Linked DNA regions of Homo sapiens: all the other regions are linked to region 3. The links are contacts of gene promoters, found by promoter capture Hi-C in blood cells and fetal thymus (Javierre and others, 2016). All regions are on one chromosome and are shown on one strand. Each heading gives the region's core, a stretch centred on a gene start or on the middle of the fragment in contact. The rest is flanking DNA. Distances are from core to core; before and after follow the strand shown. Region 1 holds the start of NDUFA11 (NADH:ubiquinone oxidoreductase subunit A11). Region 2 holds the start of ADGRE1 (adhesion G protein-coupled receptor E1). Region 3 holds the start of PSPN (persephin).

Region 1 (2,700 bases), core at 95-2,594, 470 kb after region 3:
TGCCTCCGCCTACCGCCTCGGTGAAGTCCACCTGGCCGGCCCCGGGCCTCACCGGTCCTTGGCGCGACCCAGTTCGTCTAGGGCGGCGCGCAGCTGCTGGTCGTGGAGGGCCAGGCGCTCGGCTTGGGCGTGCACCGTGCGCTCCGCCGCGTCCAGCCGCGCCTCCAGCTCCGCTGCGCGCCGGTGCACGGCTGCCAGGTGTGCGTTTGCCTCCCGGATCTGCAGGGCCGGCGGCGCCGACATGGCCCAGGCTGCTGTACAGGCCCGGCCACGCCCCCAGGCGGCCCGGAACTGGCACAGGCCCCGCCCCCGGGAGGGCCCCGCCCCACTAGACCTCGGCGCGATTGGTCGCTGACCCCGCTAGACCCCACCCCAGAGGGCTGGGTCGTGCTCTCCTCAAACCCAAACACTACCACCGGTTCCGGGATCATGAAACTCCGCCCCTGAGTTTGGGCTCACTCTAGGATTGGACAAGATCTTGACAGCCACGCCCCCAGGCTGGCCACATCCTTTGGCGGCTCGCGCAACTCAGGCTCTGGAAACAAGATTGGTCACACCTTCGATACTGTCCCCTCCCTACTTGGAAGCTAACACCAGGATTGGCCCGGACTCCGCGAAACAGCAAGCCTGACCACGCCCCCCGAACCTGTGGCCTGTCAGGGGTAGATCCAGGCACGGCCTCGCCCCTTCATCCCTTATACAGTCTCAGATTGGTCAAGTCCCTTTTAGGTTATGCCTCCAATTCTAGCCACGCCCCCAAGTCAAGCGCCTGTGTACTTCATCCGGCCTAGGGCGTGGGACAGCCGCGGGGTGAACAGAGGCCACGTCCCGCTGAGCTTCTCGTATTGTCATTGGTCACTTTCCCGATAATCCCCGCCCCTGATCCTGTCCACGGCCCAAAACAGTAGCACGCTGCTCAGACTCCAGCTTGGTGACTGACCACAGGGCATGACCACTCGCTATGCAGATTCTGACACTGGGTGTGGCCACATCCCCGCCATGCCCCGCCCCCCAGTCATTGTTTCGTCATGTCTTGCTCCTATCAACTGGAGTCCCGCCCGTCCCAGTCTGAGCCCGGCCCCTCCCCTAGTAGATAGTCCCCGCCTCTAGTAGTCCCTAACCTAGGACTCCCTGAGCTGGGACTAGCGAAATCTGTCTGCACTGATCGCAGTCGTCCTCAGTTTCACCCTCTAGGAATCGGCCTGGGGATGCACGTGCTACTCTCTTCCTCCAGGCCGGTCCCCGGCGCGTGCGCGCGATCCATGTCCATGTCCGCGCCTATCAATAAAGTTGCTCACTTGTTGCCGGCCCGCTAGCCCGAAAGGTTGCGCGCGCAGCCCGAGAAGTCTCGCGATAGCCAGCCGCGGCTGCCCTTGCGCTTCCCGAGCTGGCGGGGTCCGTGGTGCGGGATCGAGATTGCGGGCTATGGCGCCGAAGGTTTTTCGTCAGTACTGGGATATCCCCGATGGCACCGATTGCCACCGCAAAGCCTACAGCACCACCAGTATTGCCAGCGTCGCTGGTGAGCGCCGGCCGGGCCCCGAGGGTGGAGGGCCGAGGCCGCAGGGAGGTCGTGGGGTTACTGGGGGCTGTTTGGATCGAACGGGTCTGGGAGTCTCGCGGGTACGCACGTGGTTGTCATCGGGGTGTCTTGGGCGGTCGTAGGGGGGGATCTTGTGTGAAATGGATGTTGGTAGGGGGTCCAGCAGGGTTGGGGAGCACTGGGAGGTCGTGACATGCGACAAGCTAGTCCCTGGGGTCATCTGAGGCGGTCCCAAGCTATCGCCAGGCTCGGGGAAATTGTGGAGTGAGACAGGGCTATTATCAGGTCCAAGGAGCTAAGGGACCACGAGACTTTCCAACGGGGTAGAGATTGTTAGAGGGGATCATGAGTCATGATTGGGGCATCTGAGGGCGGTACAGATGTTTGAGAAAGTTTTGGGGTGGGATGAGGTCTTTCTGTGGTCAGGGGGTGCTGGGTGGTTAGGGACACCTGAAGCTTTTACTGGGACCGCCAGAGAGGTCCTAGGTGAGGTGGATCAGGAGCTACTATGAGGGTAGCCTTGCAGGGGAATGAAGGGGACCCGCAAGCCCTGGCATTCTCCTTTTTTTTTTTTTTTTTTGAGACAGAGCCTTGCTCTGTCGCCCGGGCTGGACTGCAGTGGCGAGATCTCGGCTCACTGCAACCTTCACGTCCCTGGTTCGAGCAATTCCCTTGCCTCAGCCTCCCAAGTAGCTGGGATTACGGGCTCACGCCACCGCGCCTGGCTAATTATTTTGTATTTTTAGTAGAGACGGGGTTTCACCGTGTTGGCCAGACTGATCTGGAACTCCTGGTCTCAGGCCATCCGCCCATCTCGGGCTCCCAAAGTGCTGGGATTACAGGCGTGAGCCACCATGCCCGGCCGGCCCTGGCATTCTCTTATAGAGTAAATCTGAGTCTTGCCCCTTCCAGCCTGAGCGTTTCATGGGCATCATGCCCTTTAATTCTCAGCCACAGGTTGGGACTCATCAGGTCCCAGATGGAGCTGGAAGTCCTCTTCCCTCTGATGAAGAATCTTTACAAACTGGGCCAGGCGCGGTGGCTCACACCTGTAATCCGGCGCTCAGGAGGCCAAAGTGGGAGGATCGCTTGAGGCCAGGAGTTCCAGACCAGCCTGGGCAAAATAGCAAGATCCCCATCTCTGCAAAAAAGTAAAA
Region 2 (2,700 bases), core at 152-2,651, 510 kb before region 3:
TTATAACCACCACCATCATGATCATTATCATCACTATCATTATCACAACTCTTTGCTGATTATCTTCAGGGCAGAATAGGGAGTGTTAATGGTTAATACCATTGCCAACACCCCAAAATAACAACTCTGCATGCCTACATTTGATGTCCACAGGCCACCTATTTCTTCTAATGTAGCCTGCCAGTCAACAAGTCCCACAGATCTAAACTCCCAAATTCTATCTATTATTACTAACAAAAATTCTTCTACTCATTCATTAATTATTTTAGAGGTAATTCAGCATGCTGTTTAGGCATACAAAGTCTGAAGTCAAAGTGCTTAGGTTTAAAAATCTGGCTTCACCAATTAATGATTGCGTGGCCTTGAGGAAGTTATTTAATCTCTTTGTGCCTCAGTTTCCTCCTTGGTAAAATAGGGTATTCAGATCCACTCTTCAACAGCAGAGGAAACCCATACTTGCTACTTAGAATATGTCCCCAATATCCTCCATTCTTAAATTTGATCCAATGACCAAAACACACAAGACATAGAAGAAAAACCAGAAACACAGAAGATAAACAAGGCTGAGACAAACTGACACCTGAAGAAAGAGAAATAAGAGCACAGGAAGGGTCTATCTCATCCTTCAGGACTCAGCTCGAACTGCCCCTCCTCAACCCCAGACTTCTCCCTTCAACATAACTCCCGACCACATTCTATAACAACTTCTTTCATAGCACTTATCACTACCTGAAATTCCTATGTTTACTTATTTTTTGGGGCAACATAGTATAGTGGAAAAGCTTACAGACTCTGAAGTCAGACTGTCTGGCTTGAAATCCTGCCTCTACCCCTTATTGACTAAGTGGCCTTGGGAAAATTATTTTATCTCTTTTGCCTCAGTTTTCTCATTTGCAAAATAGGACTAATAATGACCCAATGTCATAGAAATGTTGTGACAATTGGATACACTCTATGTTTAAAGAAGTTACAGCAGTGCTAAGTGGGCTATGATCATCTGTGCCTTCTTTCCTGTCTGCTCCTACCCACTAGAATATCAGCCTCAAGAGTGCAGGAACTTAGTCTTTTTTTCTCACTGCTATATCCTCTAGTGCCTAGAACAGCACCTGACACACAGGACTTGCTCAGGTCAAATGAATGACTATAGAGAAAAATCTATCCTAACAGATGGACTTCCCTGAGCTATGGAATTTTGTCAAAGGTTCCCTGAATGAAGGTGTTTGCAGCATCCAGTCTGGACTTATGATCTCTTGGCTGGACCATCCATGGCCCTCCCATTTCTCCTGAAGTCTATTTCCAATCCAGGCCTCCCCTAGCCCCCCATTCAGCCTCACACTCACCCCAGAAGAGGAGCAGGTTGAAGCCACGCATTATGCTGTAGTTCTGTCATTCAAAGAAAAGAAACTTTTCTACTAACGCTGGGTTTTCAGTAACCAGAAGGTGTGCGAAGAGGGGAAGGCGGAGTCAGAGTTGCTCAATGCTGCCTGGTCATCATAGCCCTTTTTGCTGACTTGCTGCAACTAAAAGACAGCCTAGAAAATCCTAATTTCCCCCTTTCTTCACAATAAAGAGAAGTTAATCTGCCTAATGTATATCATTCTCTCTCTCTCTCCTTCCCATGGTCTCTCCCTTTTTCTTTCCCATCAACATCTATCTCCCATCTCTCAACACCTTCTTTCATTGCACCCAATAAAGGAGCTTCCGCTTCCTGCCTCCAGTGAAGCAAATCTCAGCCTTTAGGGTCTCTTCCCAGTCTCCCGTATAAAGACAGCCATCACAACCATCATGTACCAGGCAGTGTGCTAGGCACATTGGCAACAAAGTGTAATTTCATTATCATGTTAACCTTGTAAAGTAGGAATTCCCCTCCCTCCCTCTATTCACCAACAAAATGGAAACTGAGACTTGCAGAGGAGTTATAACTTGTCCAAGATCTCTCAGACTTGAGATTTGAACCCAGGACCCTCTGATTCCAGAGTCAAGAGCTTTAACCATCTTATTTTCCTTCAGATCTCAACTCTGTCTGACGATTATACAGCAACACTTCCACCCCATTCCCAGCTTCCTAACTCTCTCTGGTAACATCTTAGGGTCTCACAAGGGCAGACCCTCAGACAAGGATTCTAGCAAAAGTAGTTTATCAAGAAGGTGGCCCCAGAAAGCACCAGCTGGGGGAGGAGAAAGTGAATCAGGAAAGGCAAAGAGCCAATACTGGGTGTGTCTTCAAATAAGTTACATGGTGAGAAAGTGGAACTTAACCTCCCCAGGGATGACTGGGGAGCGGCATGGAACATACTCTTCAGTTATTCCAACCGAGGGGTGAGGGAGCTGAGGTATTTATATCCCACCTACTGTCAGTCATGGGTTGACTTGAGGCTTGCTCCTAGAGGGTGTCAACCCCTTGAATCTTCAGGCCTGGCCTCCAAGCAGATAGAATGGGCTCCAGTTGATGTAATCCCACTGATAACAAAGTGTAGTGACTGGCAGATATTGAAGCAGTGTCATCCATCTGGGGTAATACCCGAGGTTCATTGCCTCACACCAAGGAAATAGAAAATACAGACATGGCCGGGCACCGTGGCTCACACCTGTAATCTCAGCACTTTGGGAGACTGAGGAGGGTGGATTACGAGGTCAGGAGTTCAAGACCAGCCTGGCCAAGATGGGGAAACCCCGTCTTTACTAAAAATACAAAAAATC
Region 3 (2,700 bases), core at 144-2,643:
GGTTCAAGCAATTCTCCTGCCTCAGCCTCCCGAGTAGCTGGGATTACAGGCGCCCACCACCATGCCCAGCTAATTTTTGTATTTTTAATAGAGATGGATTTCACCATGTTGGTCAAGCTGGTCTCAAACTCCTGACCTCAGGTAATCCACCCGCCTCAGCCTCCCGAGGCATGAGCCACCACGCCAAGCCCAGGCTTTTCTTTCCATCGGAAAATTATCATCTCAATAAGCACTTCAGTAAGAAAAACCACAACATAATCATCGAAGCAATCCCTCACGGATGGAGTTGAGGCCACTTCCAGACTTTCCTAATATGAAGAAGGCATCAGATGTCCCTGTGCTGGCTGTTTCACTTGCCTGTGTGGGAGGAACCCCGCAAACAGGGCTCCTGGGGCAGAGGGTGTAATTTACAATTCCCCAGTAGCAGCTGCTCATCCAAAGAGCTGCTAGCAATTTACACCCCCACCAACAGCACAGGGTGCACCTGGGTCACACGGGTTGTGTGTGAGGGTTTTCTGATTTTCCCCAATCTTGTGGGTGCTTAGAGTCAAGCACCCCTTCGGACAATCACAAGCTGTTTGCTTGTTTTTGCATTCGAAGCTACGGGCACTGCCTTACACTCTAAGTGCCCATCTCTTTCCTCACCAAGCCGAGTAGGAGGGGTTCTGAGGAGCTCCCCTGTACCGGTGAGGGGACTGGGCTCACACGGGGCTGGGTATGGAAGCCTCGAGAGCCCTTATCTGTCTGCATCGTGCTAGACGTTACCATGACCTGGACAGCCTCCATCGCCCCGGGGGCTCTGACATGCTCAGATCCCAGGATGGGGCTGCAGTTATAGGGGTCTCAGGTTGGCCTTCCCGAGACAGGCGTCCCTGTCCCCTTGTGTCCCCACCCTTGGCTGTCCCCAGGCCTCTCCCTTTTCCTGTTTTGATGCTGGCTCAGCCAGGCCCGGAGACAGGGGCATGATGTCCTAATCCTCCAGGCGGGAGCCACCATGGAGGGTTCCCGTGGACTCAGTCCCCTGCCAAGCCACCTTTCCCAGCACTCACATATGCTCCACCTGGCACATGATACACGTGGGGGCTCCTGAGCCCCAGCACCCTGACTTAGTGGGGAGGGACCCCACCGGGGTCCCATGAAGCCCCCTGACTTCCACTCCAGGCAGCAGGTCGGGGGAACACCAGTTGCCTGCCCTGGCCGCCAGCACAGCACTCGTAAATCAGGGGGTGTCTGGGGCGTCGGAAATGGCTGTGTGGAATGTCGGGGTGGGGTAGGCTGGGGGTGAGCCCTTAACTCTTAGAAGGGTGGGGTGTGGGGCAGAAGGAGCAGATGCCTGGATTCGAGGGTGCAGGAGATGGGCTGGTGCAGACGTGGGGCCTCCTGGCTGCAGGGGCCGGCAGTGAAGAGGTTAGCTCCCAGCCCAGGCAGGGCATAAATTTGGGGCACAGCTCCCACTCTCAGGACCTGCCCGTCACAATGGCCGTAGGGAAGTTCCTGCTGGGCTCCCTGCTGCTCCTGTCCCTGCAGCTGGGACAGGGCTGGGGCCCCGATGCCCGTGGGGTTCCCGTGGCCGATGGAGAGTTCTCGTCTGAACAGGTGGCAAAGGCTGGAGGGACCTGGCTGGGTAAGGACTTCCAGGGACCCTCTGTGACTTCCCAACTTTCCCCAGCCCTGACCCTGCTCACTGTCAGCGCCCTTCCCTCCCACAGGCACCCACCGCCCCCTTGCCCGCCTGCGCCGAGCCCTGTCTGGTCCATGCCAGCTGTGGAGCCTGACCCTGTCCGTGGCAGAGCTAGGCCTGGGCTACGCCTCAGAGGAGAAGGTCATCTTCCGCTACTGCGCCGGCAGCTGCCCCCGTGGTGCCCGCACCCAGCATGGCCTGGCGCTGGCCCGGCTGCAGGGCCAGGGCCGAGCCCACGGCGGGCCCTGCTGCCGGCCCACTCGCTACACCGACGTGGCCTTCCTCGATGACCGCCACCGCTGGCAGCGGCTGCCCCAGCTCTCGGCGGCTGCCTGCGGCTGTGGTGGCTGAGGGTGCCCGGCCTGGCACCCAGAAGCTGCAGTGCTGGGGGAGCTCGGCTGACTTATTTATTGGAGACCTGGATGCAGAGACAACGAGGAGGGGAGTGGGCTGGGGCGACCAGCAGTGAGTGCAATAAAGGACACCACTCTCCCGGCCTTGTGACTTTGACCATGTGTCCAGCCAGCCACACCTGGAGCTCCCTATGGGCCAGTGCCATCCTGGGTTCCCCTGCAAATCCCGGCCCCAGCAAGCAGCCACTGCAATGTCCCAGTTAGGCTGTCCATTCCCCAACTTTATTCACAAATCTGGTGTCTGTAGAAAGCTGGGGGTCAGCAGGCTGGGGGCGGCTGTCCAGACTCCCCTGGCCCCATGCCCTCAGGGAGGGAGCGGCAGATCACGGAGATGCGCCGGCCCCGGGGAATCCGGCGTTCCCCAAAGAAGGACTCTTCATCCCGAAGGATCTCATGGGAGAAGTCATAACGGGCTGAGCCCCTGCAGGAAGAAACAGGCTGTGACTGGGTGCAAGGAGGGCAGCCCCTGCTCCAGGCAGACCTGGATTCCAGCCTCCTGGATTCCAGCCCCCTGCTGCCTCCCACACAGACCCTGGGGTAAAGGCGTCTTCGGGGAGGGCTGGATTGAGGGAAAGTACCCAGGGCACAGGGTGGGCGGATGGCACA

What was found. Contacts are between HindIII fragments. The CHiCAGO score rates a contact against its expected background, and 5 or more counts as called.
Region 1: the fragment with the promoter of NDUFA11 here is called in contact with the fragment with the promoter of PSPN in region 3 in 1 of 17 cell types (fetal thymus); the score reaches 5.6 in fetal thymus.
Region 2: a contact is called between the fragment with the promoter of ADGRE1 here and the fragment with the promoter of PSPN in region 3, in 3 of 17 cell types (neutrophils, total CD4 T cells and activated CD4 T cells). The highest score is 6.6, in neutrophils.

The regions. Positions count from the first base shown.
Region 1 is chr19:5,902,434-5,905,133 of GRCh38, reverse strand. It overlaps NDUFA11 (NADH:ubiquinone oxidoreductase subunit A11), which reads left to right and starts at 1,344. Exons shown (of 4, transcript NM_175614.5): 1 at 1,344-1,522. The coding sequence starts at 1,426. VMAC (vimentin type intermediate filament associated coiled-coil protein) reads right to left here and starts at 262. Exons shown (of 2, transcript NM_001017921.4): 1 at 53-262. The coding sequence starts at 243. RefSeq lists a silencer at 79-428 and enhancers at 469-588, 1,162-1,456, 1,266-1,912. The HindIII fragment of the contact is 6,218 bases long and covers 1-2,001 here.
Region 2 is chr19:6,886,280-6,888,979 of GRCh38, reverse strand. It overlaps ADGRE1 (adhesion G protein-coupled receptor E1), which reads right to left and starts at 1,401. Exons shown (of 21, transcript NM_001974.5): 1 at 1,341-1,401. The coding sequence starts at 1,371. RefSeq lists an enhancer at 1,348-1,407. The HindIII fragment of the contact is 2,856 bases long and covers 785-2,700 here.
Region 3 is chr19:6,374,626-6,377,325 of GRCh38, reverse strand. It overlaps PSPN (persephin), which reads left to right and starts at 1,393. Exons shown (of 2, transcript NM_004158.5): 1 at 1,393-1,624; 2 at 1,710-2,178. The coding sequence starts at 1,477. The coding sequence ends at 2,032. It overlaps ALKBH7 (alkB homolog 7), which reads right to left. Exons shown (of 4, transcript NM_032306.4): 4 at 2,076-2,515. The coding sequence ends at 2,353. The HindIII fragment of the contact is 10,611 bases long and covers 1-2,700 here.